2 separate regions of the Homo sapiens genome follow, and region 1 is linked to region 2. Evidence: promoter capture Hi-C in human tissues and cell types (Jung and others, 2019). All regions are on one chromosome and are shown on one strand. Each heading gives the region's core, a stretch centred on a gene start or on the middle of the fragment in contact. The rest is flanking DNA. Distances are from core to core; before and after follow the strand shown.

Evidence for each region. Contacts are between HindIII fragments. The study calls those that stand out against the background at their distance.
Region 1: a fragment that was not itself captured here is called in contact with the fragment with the promoter of ZNF736 in region 2 in 1 of the 25 tissues and cell types used here (lymphoblastoid cells).

Annotation. Positions count from the first base shown.
Region 1 is chr7:64,902,504-64,909,648 of GRCh38, reverse strand. It overlaps ZNF273 (zinc finger protein 273), which reads right to left and starts at 6,376. Exons shown (of 4, transcript NM_021148.3): 1 at 6,230-6,376. The coding sequence starts at 6,331. RefSeq lists enhancers at 6,122-6,231, 6,262-6,321, 5,636-6,508, 6,722-6,771, 6,792-6,841 and 1 more. The HindIII fragment of the contact is 5,308 bases long and covers 808-6,115 here.
Region 2 is chr7:64,311,421-64,318,583 of GRCh38, reverse strand. ZNF736 (zinc finger protein 736) reads right to left here and starts at 4,623. Exons shown (of 4, transcript NM_001170905.3): 1 at 4,431-4,623. The coding sequence starts at 4,433. RefSeq lists an enhancer at 4,391-4,570. The HindIII fragment of the contact is 17,485 bases long and covers 2,373-7,163 here.

The DNA of each region.
Region 1 (7,145 bases), core at 2,212-4,711, 590 kb before region 2:
TTATAAAGACACATGCAAATGCATGTTCATTGCAGCACTATACACAATAGTACTTGTGAGCAAAGACATGGAAGCAACCTAAATGTCTATCAATAGTAGACCGGATAAAGAAAACATTATGGCTGGGCGCGGTGGCTCACACCTATAATCCCAGCACTTTGGGGGGCCAAGGTAGGCAGATCACTTGAGGTCAGGAGTTGGAGACCAGCCTGGACACCATGTTGAAACCCCGTCTCTACTAAAAAATACAAAACAAATTAGCCAGGCATGGTGGTGCATGCCTGTAATCCCAGCTGCTTGGGAGGCTGAGGCAGGAGAGTCGCTCGAGCCTGGGTGGTGGAGGCTGCAGTGAGCCAATATCGTGCCACTGCACTCCAGTCTGGGCGACAGAGGGAGACTGTCTCAGAAAAAAAAAAAAAGAAGAAAACATATTGTTGGGTGCAGTGGCTCACGCCTGTAATCGCAGCACATTGGGAGGCCAAGGCAGTTGGATTGCCTGAGCTCAGCAGTTTGAAACTAGCCTGGGACAACATGGCAAAACCCCGTACGTACAAAAAATACAAAAAGAAAAACTAGCTAGGTGTGGTGGCATATGCCTGTAGTCCCAGCTACTTTGGGGGCTGAGGTAGGAGGATTGCTTAAGCCCAGGATGTTGAGGCTGCAGTCAGCCAAGATCACCCCACTGTACTCCAGCCTGGGCAATAGAATATCCTGTCTCCAAAATAAAACAAAATATTTAATAAAAACAAAATATGATATATAAACATCATGAAATACTGTGTGGCCCTAAAAAAATAATAATAAGGTTATGTCCTCTGCAGCAACATGGTTGGAGCTGGAGACCATCATCTTTAGTGAACTAATGCAGAAATGGAAAACCAAATACATGTTCTCATTTATAAGTAAGTGCTAAATAATAACACATGGCACCCTGGGAGGCAGAGCCCAGCAGATCAGTTGAGGTCAGGAGTTTGAGACCAGCCTGGTTAACATGGTGAAACCCTGTCACTATTTTTAAAAATAAATAAATTAGCCAAGCGTGGTGACAGGTGCTTGTAATTTCAGCTACTCAGGAGGCTGAGGCAGGAGAATCACTTGAACCTGGCAGGCAGAGGTTGCAGTGAGATCATGCCACTGCACTGTAGCCTGAGTAACAGAGCAAGACTCCATCTCAAAACAAACAAACAAAAACACATGGACTCAAAGCGGGGAACAACAAACACAGAGGCCAAGTTGAGGGTGGAGGGTGAGAGGACAAAGAGGATCAGAAAAAGTACCTATTTGGTGCTATGCTTACTACCTCAGTGACAAAATAATCTGCACACCAAAGCCTCACAACACAATTTTATGTATATAACAAATCAGCACGTGTACCACGAACCAAATATAAAAGTTAAAAGGAAAAAAAATCCATGAGTGGAGAATAGTGCAATGTAAGTGGATGGATTTGTTTGTGCTATCAGATAGTGGCCCAGGGGGGCTGTACTCTGATTTGTGTCCATGCAGGCAGATGAGATTATGAACAGGTTGGTAGAGGAAGCAGGTTGCTACTGCAGATTCAGTGTCTGGGGGTGGGGATATCCCCAGAGACATGTAGACACTTTTGTGGATTTTTGGCAAAAAATACCAGGATCAAAAATGTTGTGGTGAAATTCCTGAGGGTGGTTCCTAGTCCTGGGAGGGGTGTGGACACATCAATGTCTAGTGCGTATGTTTGAGAGTGGGTGGGAATCCTGTGGTGGCAGCTGTGGAAAAAAGGGGTCTGTTATCACAGCTCATTTCCTCTAAGTTGTCAGTTCTCGCTCACCCTGGGAGGAGACATGGAATCACAGGACAACGGGCAGTGTGACAGTCTGTGTACAGGAGAGCAGAGCCTCCCATTCCCAGACACCCAGAGTTCCATTCCAGGCCAGGCTTCTGTGATATCTTTCCTCTGGTACCAAATCTCTAGAGTTTGTGGAATACCAAGCAATTCTCTAACACCAACTAATTGTCTAACATTTGAATTCTGACACCACCCAGGGTCAGCACAGACCCTGATTCAGGGCTCAGTCCCACAACACTATCCTCACTGCAGATGCCAGTCACAAATTCCATAGGCCCATCTATACACTGGGGTTACTGTTTAAAAATTTGGGACTCCCATAACCTCCCTCAAGTTCAATAATTTGATAGAGCTACTCACAGAACTCAGCAAACACTGTAGTTATGTTGACCAGTTTATTATAAAAGACACAACGCAGGAAAACTCAAATGGAAGAAATGTATAGGACCAAGAAAAGAGGTGGGGAAAGATGAAGCACATAGATAATCCTGGTAAATAGCTGTGATTAATAAAATTATCCATCCTTTGTGCTCTCCAGGAACAGTTGATGGAAAGAAACACCCTCCCATTATGACTTAGATGGTGCTCTTTTCTTACCTATCACATAACCAAACACAGACTCCACATTTCCTTTTCTCATTAAAAACAAACAACAAACAAACAAAAAACAGCTGAACTGGTCTCAGTGGCTAAGAGGAAATATTTCTTAATCAAACTTTACTTAAGTTTATCTTCTTCCCACAGGCTCAGAATTTTGAGCTACCCTCAGTCTGAACCAACATACACCATTTTATGTCCCAGCTAAGAACATGCTGACTTCAGGGTAAAACATTCTCTGATATAAAATCTAATTTTCCCACCTTCTATTTGCCATCCCCTCCCACCTTCTTTCTAATCTTGTCTGCCTAAACTTTGCAGTCCTTCAAGATCTTATAGTTGGTACTTTGCCTGTTGCAACACTCTTTTGGAATTCAAATTTTTTTTTTTACATAACTTTGTTTTATTTTGTAAGTCTAGAAACTGCCTTAAAACAGTAACAACTTCATCTCCAGTAAGACCTTCCTAATCCCCTTCCATCTTAACTTTAACTGCATCTGCCTGTGGGTCCCCAGCTTTCCTGGGCTCTGTAGCTTCTCTCAGTATAAAGGCTTCTTCATGGCTGGTGTGAGCAGGCTGGGACATCTGCAGGGGAGGCTCCCCAAAAAGAACCTAACTGGGCCTTTAATAACCTCCTTTTGCAGGCTCCATATTAGCCTTAGCTTAGAGTCACTGGGCTGAAGCTTTAATTTCCATGTCAGAGGTATTAACTTGGTTTTTGAAAGTAAGTGTTTAAAAAATCCAGCAAAATTACTCAAACACAGTGATCATATAAGGGGAAGACATTTTAAGGTGTTTACATTTTATACCTCAACAAGAAAAGCAAAAGTATCCATTCCTTTTAGATGATAAACGTATTATTTTATAATTTTTATTAAAAATCATGTAGTAAACAGTCATATGGGAACGCTTCTGGGAGGTACCAAGTTTTACCATATAATTCAGCATTAAACTCAGAAATCAAGATAACAGGACATAGACTAGAGATATTCACTGTTACAAATGTACTCTGCATAAAGAGGAACTGATGTTTTCACAAATCTAAGTAACTCACCAATTATCTACTACATATTCTTGTGGAAAAGTATTTATTTTCTACAGCCAAAATTAAAAAGAGATTCTCCCTATTTTTTTCCTTGGTTAGCATTCTAAAAGCCAAGACTTGGAATTCTGTTTGATCTCACCCATAAAAGACACACCCGAGAAAATTCTTAAACTCATTCTGGCAAAGAAAAAGATAAATGAGAATTTTTAACAAATGGACTATATAATTAGATATTATTTCTCTCCCTGAAACCCACCTTTTTGTAAATTTTTTACCTTTCAAGTTTTACTAATAAAATGCAACTTACAATAAAAAACTGAAGTCAAAAAAAGTGAAGAAATCTTTTCAAGATGATAAACCCCCAGAGAGTGGCAGTGCTGATTAGAAAACTGATGTGTTTGACTCGTGTCAAGTCAGGCCACGATCCCTTGATTCTCCCACCCCATCCTGCTCACTTAAGTGCTCAACGACCACCCTCTTCGGAGACACTATACCTCAGTTACTGCTCCAGATGCATTTTAGTTTGCAAGTTCTTGCACCATCTCACTGGAGTAAGTTTTTTTTAGTTTTTTTGGTACACTATTTTTTCTTTCACAAATGTTAAGAGAATTCAGGGGGAAGAAATTATTTGTTTTCCCCTTAATACCAGCATCTGATTGGCTGACCAGCAATCTGTCTCCAAGAAATGAAAGCTGGATTGGGTGAAGACAATCTTAATGTCTCAACGGGTTAGCTTTTCAAAAAAAAAAAAAAAAAAAAAAGTGTGGCCAGCGTGGGGTGCCTCACGCCTGTAATCTCAGCACTCTGGGACGCCAAGGTGGGCGGATCACTTGAGGCCAGGAGTTCAAGGCCAGTACAGCCAACATGGTGAAACCTCCTCTCTACAAAAAACACAAAAATTAGCCAGGTGTGTCGGCGTGCACTTGTAATCCCAGCTACTTGGTAGGCTGAGACTGGAGAATCGCTTGAACCTGGGAGGCGGAGTTTGCAGTGAGCCACGATCGCCCCATTGCACTCCAGCCTGGGCGACAGAATGAGACTGTCTCAAAAAAAAAAAAAAAAAAAAAAAAAAGTGCACCAGGAGATGCCTCTCAGCCCCACGACATCCACCTGCTCTTTTAAGAAGCTACACTCCATACCTGAGACTGTCCTATGGGAGAAAATGACCCAGGAGCTGATATTCACTAAACATTGTAGCAGACATAGCGATTGTGGGTATCTTGGTTTATCCCCAGACAGTACTAAAACTCAAAACCAGGAAAACACTGAGGAGTGGCTGAGGAAACAGCACTCCATAAAGTTTCCAAAGGGAAACCTTGACCCAAAAACATTTTGGTAAGATCTCTGTGCCTAGGGAAGATTATTTTAAAAAGAGGCACAGAGATTTTTTTACAATACAGTGTCAGGGGATGATTCTTTGCTTTCTTCTCCTGGGAAATATTTTCAAACAGAAAAAAATTTTTCTAAAGTGCTATCCAATGCTGTGTCAAAAAATGATTAATTAAAATACAGTATCTAAAATGTACACTAAAATAATGTGAATTAGGATGAGGAAGTTGGCATTTCGGAATGTCAGAAAAAACTGGAAATTTGGTATTTTACTGCAAGCCAGAGTTAGGCTGAAGGAATTGGGGGTGGGGAGTAGTCTTGAGACTCTGCTTGGGCCACATGTGAAAATTTCAGGGGAAAATCTATCCCCTGTAGAGTGTGTACACAATTAAGTAGCAGGCAATTAGACTGAGGTAGCTCCAGTCCCAGGGTCCCCATTTTTTAAAAAAATCTAACTCAAATTGGCCGGGCGCGGTGGCTCACGCCTGTAGTCCTAGCACTTTGGGAGGCGGAGGCGGGTGGATTGCCTGAGCTCAGGAGTTCGAGACCAGGCTGGGCAACACAGTGAAACCCAGACTCTACTAAAATACAGAAAAGTTAGCTGGGCGTGGCGGCGTGCGCCTGTAATCCCAGTTACTTGGGAGGCTGAAGCAGGAGAATTGCATGAACCCGGGAGGCGTTGGTTGCAGTGAGCCGAGATGGCTGCCATTGCACTCCAGCCTGAGCGACAGTGTGAGACTCTGTCTCAGAAAGAAAGAAAAAAAAATCTAACTCAAACTTTTTGTAAATTACAACATTGAGGGAAACAAAATTCAGGCTTAACCAACCATAAACTGCCAATTAACCTCTGATGACATAACCAGGAAATGTCCACCCTGAATTTACAAATTAAGAAACTACATAACGGTACCTAACCAATTATTGGCTTTCTTCATCACACACCTTATAAAAGTCTTTCCTTCAAGCCCTTCCCATGGACCACAAACTACAAACCACAGCTGGGTGCTCTATAATTTGTGAATGACTGTCTGATTAAATTCTTTAATATTTTCGCGGTGACTTCCATACATTTTTAATAGAAAAAAGGAGGGTCTGGGAACCCCATGGACCAAAGCTCTTCCTAGTCATGAACCCTGCATCCCGAGTCATCGAGGAGAGATGCGGCGCTGCGGCAGCAGAGCTGCCCAGGGAGGGCTCCAGGCCAGGGAACGGTCACTGCGCAGGGAGGAGACAGGACGCCCGGGATCCCGGCTGCCAGCCCAGCAGCCATCTTATGACTGAAGGGGACTGAGGGCCGAGCTGCGCCAAGGAGAACTCCTGGCCGCGGATTTTGGAGTCTACTGCAGGGAGGCCGGAGTCTCGCCACATCCACTTCCCACCAGTTCCAACCAGGCCCTCCCCCTCTCTCGGGATCTGGGACCCGGCACTCTCACCATTTCTAGGCTTCCAGGGAGTCCTGGCGTCTTAGCTGTGGATCTCCCAATACCTGCAGGTAACGGGGCCACAGAAGGTGGACCTCTAGGAGCAGAGGACATAGAGCAGTGAAGACGAGACCTGGAGCTGCGACTGCAGCGAGAGACAAAGGCCCCGCCAAATCCCGGAAGCCGTCCTGTCCGCTCCAGCTGCGTGCCTGATTGGACGGGTCCCAGCCCAGCGTCCCTGATTGGAGGATGTTTAAGGACCCGCCCCCTCAGGCCCTGAATGACAGAAGGTGTGCTCAGTTGCTGGGCTGAAAGAAGATAGAATGAAACCTAAACTGCAGGCTTTTCAGTCAGGGCTTCCTCCCTGAACTGAGCCCGGCCCACCCACGGGGTATTTGCATTTAACCTTGTGTATAAGGTCATATGCATTTATATTAATAAATAGTATAGTGTGTGAAAGGAAAATAAATTTTGCGGCCCCAAAATCACTAAGCTATAGGGAAAAGTCAAGCTGGGAACTGCTTAGGGCAAACCTGCCTTCCATTCTATTCAAAGTCACCCCTCTGCTCACTGAGATGATTGCATATCTGATTGCCTCCTTTTCCCAGGCTAATCAGGAACTCAAAAGAATGCAACCATTTGTCTTTTATCTACCTAGGACCTGGAAGCCGCCTCCCCACTTCCAGTTTTCTTTCTTTCTTTTTCTTTCTCTCTCTCTGTCTCTTTCGGAGTCTCGCTCTGTCTTCCAGGCTGGAGTGCAGTGGCACGATCCGATCTCTGCTACTGCAACTTCCACCTCCCTCCGGGGTTCAAGCGATTCTCCTGCCTCAGCCTCCAGAGTAGCTGGCTAATTTTTCTATTTTTAGTAAAGACGGGGTTTCACCACTTTGTCCAGGCTGGTCTTGAACTCCTGACCTCAGGTGATCCA
Region 2 (7,163 bases), core at 3,374-5,873:
AAATATGTATATATTTAACTTTATTGCTTTTATGATACTTGCCCAACATGGTAATATAAAAATGGATAATAGGAAGTTTAACTTTAGATGAGTATATTAGTCTGTTTCATGAGATTTTACAAAAATAATTGTTAAGAATAAATAAATAAAGCATGTAAATGGGACAAAAGTTTATAAACTTACAATACTGATTGTTTTGTAATGTGTTTAATTTAAATAGTTTCTCAAATCTTTATGGAAACTACACTCGTAGACTGTTGCTAAGCTACATTAAATGATGGCTATTCATTAAACATCTAAATTATCTCCAAGTAAGACAAAATGCTAAGATATTAATTTTTAAATACAAGTTTAAGCTAAATATTTTTGGTTTCTTCACAGAAACCAAAGATATTTAGATCTGTTAGTATGCCCTATTCCACATTAAAAATGTTTCCATTTAAAATCCTATGTTTCTAAAAATTAGAAAATATATCTTTATAAAATTTTAGTTCATGACTAATAGTTAAAATTGCTTACTTCTCAGGCTTTCACTATAAATTAAGATTATTAAAAATTAAAATTCTGCCCAAGATTCGTAACTAAAACTATTGTTAAGGAGAGAAACAACTTTACATACACAGTACAAAGAAAATGTGTTTCTTGATGAAAAAAAAATATTTTAGAAACAGATGTGAGAATGTGGTTTTTCTTAAAGAAACGGCAATTTTGCTGAGTTTAGAGGTTATTTAAAAAATACATAAAATTGAGAGAAAAAAGATAAAGAAAATGAGGTAAACTTAATGGATATAGAAAGCTGGAGAAAGAGAAAAATAAAATTTTAAGGGGTTATAAAAGGTTTACAGAAATCTTGTATGGTCAAAGCTGATTGAGATTGAATACATCTGTTTATAATGCTTTCCTAAGGTTAGCTTTAATATTAATAATATAAAAATAAAATTTGATTTTCTACTTTTATGAAGAAGATTTACTCCAAATTTGTTGGAAGGAACCATATTAGATTTTCTTGGCCAGTACCTGTGCCACTAAATTGAAGGGTAATGTCTTTTAAAATATCTGGTCACTGCTCTCTCTACATAGCTCTGAAAAAACCCAGTACTGGACAAATTCTCTCTAACTTTTCCACAGGCATGGCCACCAATCTGTTTTAGATTAAGATTCTATTTGAAAAAAATCTGCTAATTATCTGCCTGGCTTTCAAAAAACAGCTTCATTCATTTTATTGGAAAAAAATGTTTTTGCCTTGGTGAGGTGTCACCTCCCATGAACACATGATTAAAAATATTTTTATAAGCTTAGAAAAAATTACTGATAAAACTGTTACATCCATTGCAGCTCAAAAAAAAGCTACTGATTCACTGGCTACGATTATACTAGACAATCATATTGCTTTAGGTTACATATATTACCTGAGCAAAGATATGTATGTATGGTGGGAAATATCTTTTTATTGTGTACACATAAATACTTCCTACAAAGTAGAAATTTTTTAAAAAAATGAGTTGGCCACTGTCACAAATTCTCCACCCTGCACAAGAGAGAAACTGATGTTTTCATGAATGTTTTGTAATTTACGTGTTAATCTACCACACTTTCTTGTAGAAATGTATTTATTTTTCTGCAGGCATCATGAGAGAGACATTTCCTCTGTCTTTTCCCAGGTAGCATTCCCAAAGCTAAGCCCTGGGATTCTGTTTGAAATCATGCTAAATAGAACAGACGCGGAATCTTACTACACTCACTGTGGGAAATATAAAAGGTAAATGAGAATTTTCAACCAATGGAATATAAACTATTTTTTTCTAAAATCTACCTCTTTTCTTTTAGAAAATTTTTTTTTTAATCTTTCAAGCTCTAATGATAAAATCCATTATACAATTAATGAAAAACTGAAGTTGAAATAACTGAACATATATATTGAAGGTGACAAACACAGGGAGAAGTAGTGCTGACTGGAACACAAATGTTTTAGACTCATGTGTCAATCACTTGAGAGATTCTCCCACCCCCATTCTGCTCACTAAAGTACTTGATCATCACTCTCCCAAAAGATACTGCACTTGCCCCCTGTGTGGCAGATGTGTATTTTGCTTTGCAAATTTATACACTCCCTCACTAGAGTGGATCTTTCCTGTACTTTGGGACAGTTATTCTCCTTCACAAGCCTGAGAGAAACCAGAGGGCAAGATGCATTTGTGCCTTTTCCCCTCAATATCAGCACCTGATTGGTTGACCACCAATGTGTCTGCAAGAAATGAAAACTAGGATTGAGGGGAAAAAAATCTTAATGTTAAAGCAGTTAGCTTTTTAGAGGAAGGGTGAATCAGGAAACTGCTCTCAGCACGAGGGCATCCAGCTGCTCCCCTGAGAGGCTCCACCCAATGCCTCAGGCTCTTCTCTGAAAGGAGATGACCCAGGGGCTAATGTTTGCTAGACACTCCAAGAGATATGGTCCTTGTGGGTATCTTGGATCATCCCCAGAAAGCTGTAATACTTGGACCAGGAAAACACAGGAGAGTGACTGAGGACACATCACCCTGCAAAGGATCCAAAGACATTCTGGGAAGGCGCGCGTGCCTAGAGAAGATGAGAGGAGATGCGCAGTGTCAGGTGACTACTCTTTGCTTTTCTGTCCTGTGAAATATGCACAAACAGACTAATATATTAAAAAGAGCCACCCACGGCTCTGTTAAACAAAAATAAACAAAATGCCACATCCGTTTTAAAATTAAATAAAGAACTGATAGTTCATAATGTGATTTGGAGAGGGATAGTTGGCATTTGGGAATGTGGGAAAGAAATTGGAAATTTAGAATTTTATACAGTCCCTAGAACAGTTAGGCTGGGAGAACAGTTTTAGATTTGAGACCCTGCTTGCCAAACATTTGAAAAATGCAGAGAAAACCAACGACCCTGTGGAGCATTAAAATAATTAAATAGCTAGCAATTAGGCTGAAGTGGCCATGGTGCCCTGGGATTCTGCCTAAGGAAACCTAACTACGTCGAAGGAATTTCTGGTAAATTATTAACTTTGAGAAACAACAACAACAACAACAAAACAACTTAGGCTTAACCAACCACAAGCTGCCAATAAAAAGCTCTAATTACATAACCAGGACATTTCCACCGGAGGGCTGCAAATGCAATACGTAACTGTAACCAATCAAATATTGAATCTGGTTTGCTTCCTCATACCTCTTAAAAAAAAAAAACAACCTTTTGTTCCAAGACCCTCCTTTGAGCCCCCAAACAACAAATCATAGCTGGGTGTTCTCTGATTGATAAATTACTGTTTGTGCAAGTAAACTATTTGTATTAATCGCTTCTGGCATTACTATAAATACCTCAGACTGGGTAATTTATAAGAGGATTAATTGGCTCATGGTTCCACAGGCTGCATAGAAAGCATAACACCAGCGTCTGCTTCTGGGGAGGCCCCACCCAGAAAGCTTAAAATCATGGATGAAGGTGAAGCAAGAGCTTGAAAAAGAGGCAAGGTGGGGTGCTGTACACTTCTAAATGATGAACTTCAGGGAACTCACTCACTATTGAGAGGACAATACCAAGAGGAATGGTGCTAAACTATTCGTGAGAAATCCGGGCCCACAATCCTTCCACCAGGCCCCACCTCCAACATGGGGGATTACATTTAAATAGGAGATTTGGGCTGGAAAACACATCCAAATTATATCCTAAAGTTGCCTCAATTTAGGCTAGGGTGGTGGGTCATGCACGTAATCCCGGCACTTTAGGAGGCCCGAGGCGGGCGGATCACCTGAGACCTGAGCTCGGGGAGTTCGAGACCAGCCTGAGCAACATGGCAAAAGCCTGTCTCTACAAAAACAAACAAAACAAAATAGGCGTGGTGGCGCACCCCTCTAGTCCTAGCTACTTGGGGGGCTGGGGTGAGAGGATCATCTGAGCCCAGTAGGTGGAGGCTGCAGTGAACCGAAATGCACTTTAGCCTGGGCAACAGAGTGAGACACTGTCTCAAAAATAAATAAATTTAAAAAAGGGCCATGATTTTATTTTTAAAAGGAGAAAGGAGGGACTAGGGACCCCACGGCCCACTGCTTCTTCCACGGAGGAACTCCAGACCCTAAATGAGAATTCCCGTCTTATGACACTCCCAACACCCCCACACAATCTGGAGGAGGGAGACTCGAGGTTGCGGCACAGAGCTGCCCAGGAAGGGATCTGAGCTGGGGAGAAATTCGAGTTTAGGGACAAAACAAGACGTAGCGTTTTGGCTGCTGGCTCAGCCCCTAATCTGCGATGGAGGGAAATGAGGATTGAGCTGTGCCCGCGGGGACTCGGGGATGCAGACTCCAGAGCAGACCGCGAGAAGGCCCAGATACCACCGCAGCCGGTTCCGGCCGGATTCAAACAGCCTCTTCCCCATTCTCGGGACACCCACTCCACGCACTCACCATTTCCCAGCCTCCAGATGTTCCGCCGTCCTCCCTATGGATCTCCCAGTACCTGCAGGTCACAGGATAACAGAAGCTATAGTAGAGTCACCGAGGAACTCCAGGAACGGAGGAGATGGAACAGTGGAGACGCGAACTAGGATCAGAGCCCGGAAGCTAGGAGACAAAGGCCCCGCCATATTGAAGAGGCCGCCTCTTCCTCTGTAGCTGCGCACTTGATTGGACAGTTTCACGCTGGCGCCACTGATTGGCTAGGGCTCCAGGCCCCACCCGTTTCAATCCTAAGTGACAGAAGATGTAATCAGACACTGGGCTGAATGAGGCAAGGGTGACAGGTTTTTGCCTGCAGCGTTTTCAGGCGAGTCCTCCCTGTGCTGGGGGCCTGGCCCTGCCTGAGAGACATTTGTATTTAACCTTGCATATAAGATTATATCACTTTCTGATTATATTTTCGTGTGTGTGTATATATTACATTCTGAATTATAGTTATGTGTATGCTGCAGGCCCTGTCTCAGCATCCTGTCTTTCCCTTTAGCTGCAGGAGATCAAAGTCCTCCAGGAGATGCAGCTGCTTCAGCTGGCTGTAGACAATTATCACCTTCAGTCTGTGAAGCAATTTTGGGTCTGCTTCCAATTAATGGAGTGTCTCAGTGAGACTGAGAGGTGAGGGCCTAGCAGATTGGTTAGAGGTGCCACTCGCCCAGGCCTCCCAAAACACCCTGTCTCTTTCCCACCAAAGCTGAGCCTGCCTGAGGACCTAAACAAGCATGGAGAACCAAGATGGGACCCTAGTCAGGGATAGTGCTGGGCTGTGGGGTAAAGTCAGCTAGGTCAGGGCCTCCAGGTGTGGGGAGGAGCCGGCCTCTTCTGTAGAGCCCTGGGCAAGTCACTGCCCTCTTTGGGCCTCTGTTTTCTTATCTAAAAAATGTAGGGATGATGAGCCTCACAGGGTAATGAGGAGCTTCAAAGGAGAAAAATTTGAGAGTGCTTGTGCCTGGCTCTTCCTGAGAGAGATGATGATGAGAACAATGGTGACGGCTACATATAACTGAGTCCTCACGAGGCCCAGTGAGGTAGGTGTGGTTCCCATCACACTTTCAAGTTGAGAAACAGTCTCAGGGAGGCCTGGCTGCATGCCCAAGGTTCCACACACAGTGAGTGTTGCAGCAGGGAGTGAATCTAGAATCAGAGTTTACTGGAGGTGGCAGGAGCACTGGACCAGCTTGACTCACACCAGTTATCCAGGGTACCAGGTCAATGTAACTGGGCATAACTGGGTGAAGGGAGCATAATATCACTGACCTTGTCCTTGACCCTGGCAGAGGAAGACACCCAAGTTGGCCACCCTAGAGAAGAAACCACAGAAAGCCCAGATGAGGCTAAAGCAGCAAAAAGGCAGGTACCTGTGATGGGGAAGAGCTCCAGGGATTCAGAGGGAAGAGCTCCTCCCTCCCAGCTGGAGGCCTCCACATCAAAAGAGCAAGGGGCCTTTCTCCCTCAGCCCTTCCCTCCTGTGGCAACAGTCCCTGAAATGCCTCTATAAGAGAAATCAGAGTAAAGGCCTGGAAGAGCTGGGCTGAGTGGATTTGGGAAACGGTGGAGCTAGGGACCACATAACATTGTGACTTGTTAAAATCTCACCACAGAGTTAATAAGGGAGTGCTTCATGTTTTTGGAGGCCAGCTAGGAAGAGGGGAGAGAGTTGGAGAGAGGCAGCTGCGTGTCTTTGGCTTTTTCAAGTAAAAGATGTGGATAGGAGAGTCCAGGAGATGGGGGCTTATGAGATTTCAGGGACAGGCCTTGAATGGACACCCAAAAGTGGATACTCATCCCCATCACCACCTGATAGCACAGGGTGTTGCTGACTTTCACCTCCCCACTCTCTCCCAATGTTGCCCCAGCTGCTCACCTTCCTTTTCTTTCTGGGTGTTACATTTCCCTAGAAGTCAGCCAATGGTCATCAGAAAGGCCCCTTGGACCCTGACTAGGTCCCCTCCCCACACTCTTCATACTGCATTACTGCCAGGGCCACCAGGGGCAGGGGATGTGCACAAAGCAGGACTTGGGTCTGCAGCAGGTTCTGGGGTTCAAAGGGGACAATGGGAGCTGAGGCTCAGGGACCTCCCACCCCAACTCTCTTTGATGACAGACATAAAAACTGAGGGCTCCCATTTAAAAAAGTGCTCAGCCAGGCCAGGCACGGTGGCTCACACCTGTAATCCCAGTACTTTGGGAGGCTGAGGATGGTGGATCACCAGGTCAGGAGTTCAAGACCAGCCTGGCCAAGATGGCAAAACCCCGTCTCTACTAAAAATACAAGAATTAGCTGGGCGTGGTTGTGGGCACCTGTAATCCCAGCTACTAAGGAGGCTGAGGCAGAGAATTGCTTGAACCTGGGAGGCGGAGTTTGCAGTGAGCCAAGATCATGCCACTGCACTCCAGCCTGGGTGACAGAGGAGGCTCCATCTCAAAAAAAACCAAAAAACAAAAAACAAAAGTGCTCAGCCACATACGAGCTGCCTGCCCTTGGAGAGGCCTAAGTTTACTATCCTTCCATTGGCACCATCTGAGGGAGAGTCTGAGTCCAGCTCAGGCAAAACCTCACTGGGCTTTGCAAGCAGACAGCTCTGCAGCTTCATCACTCAGGGAACAGGGACTGGTGGCTGGTGTGGAATCTTCAACATTCATAGGGAAGAGGGGCCTGATACCTCAGCTCACAGAGGCAGCCGTGAC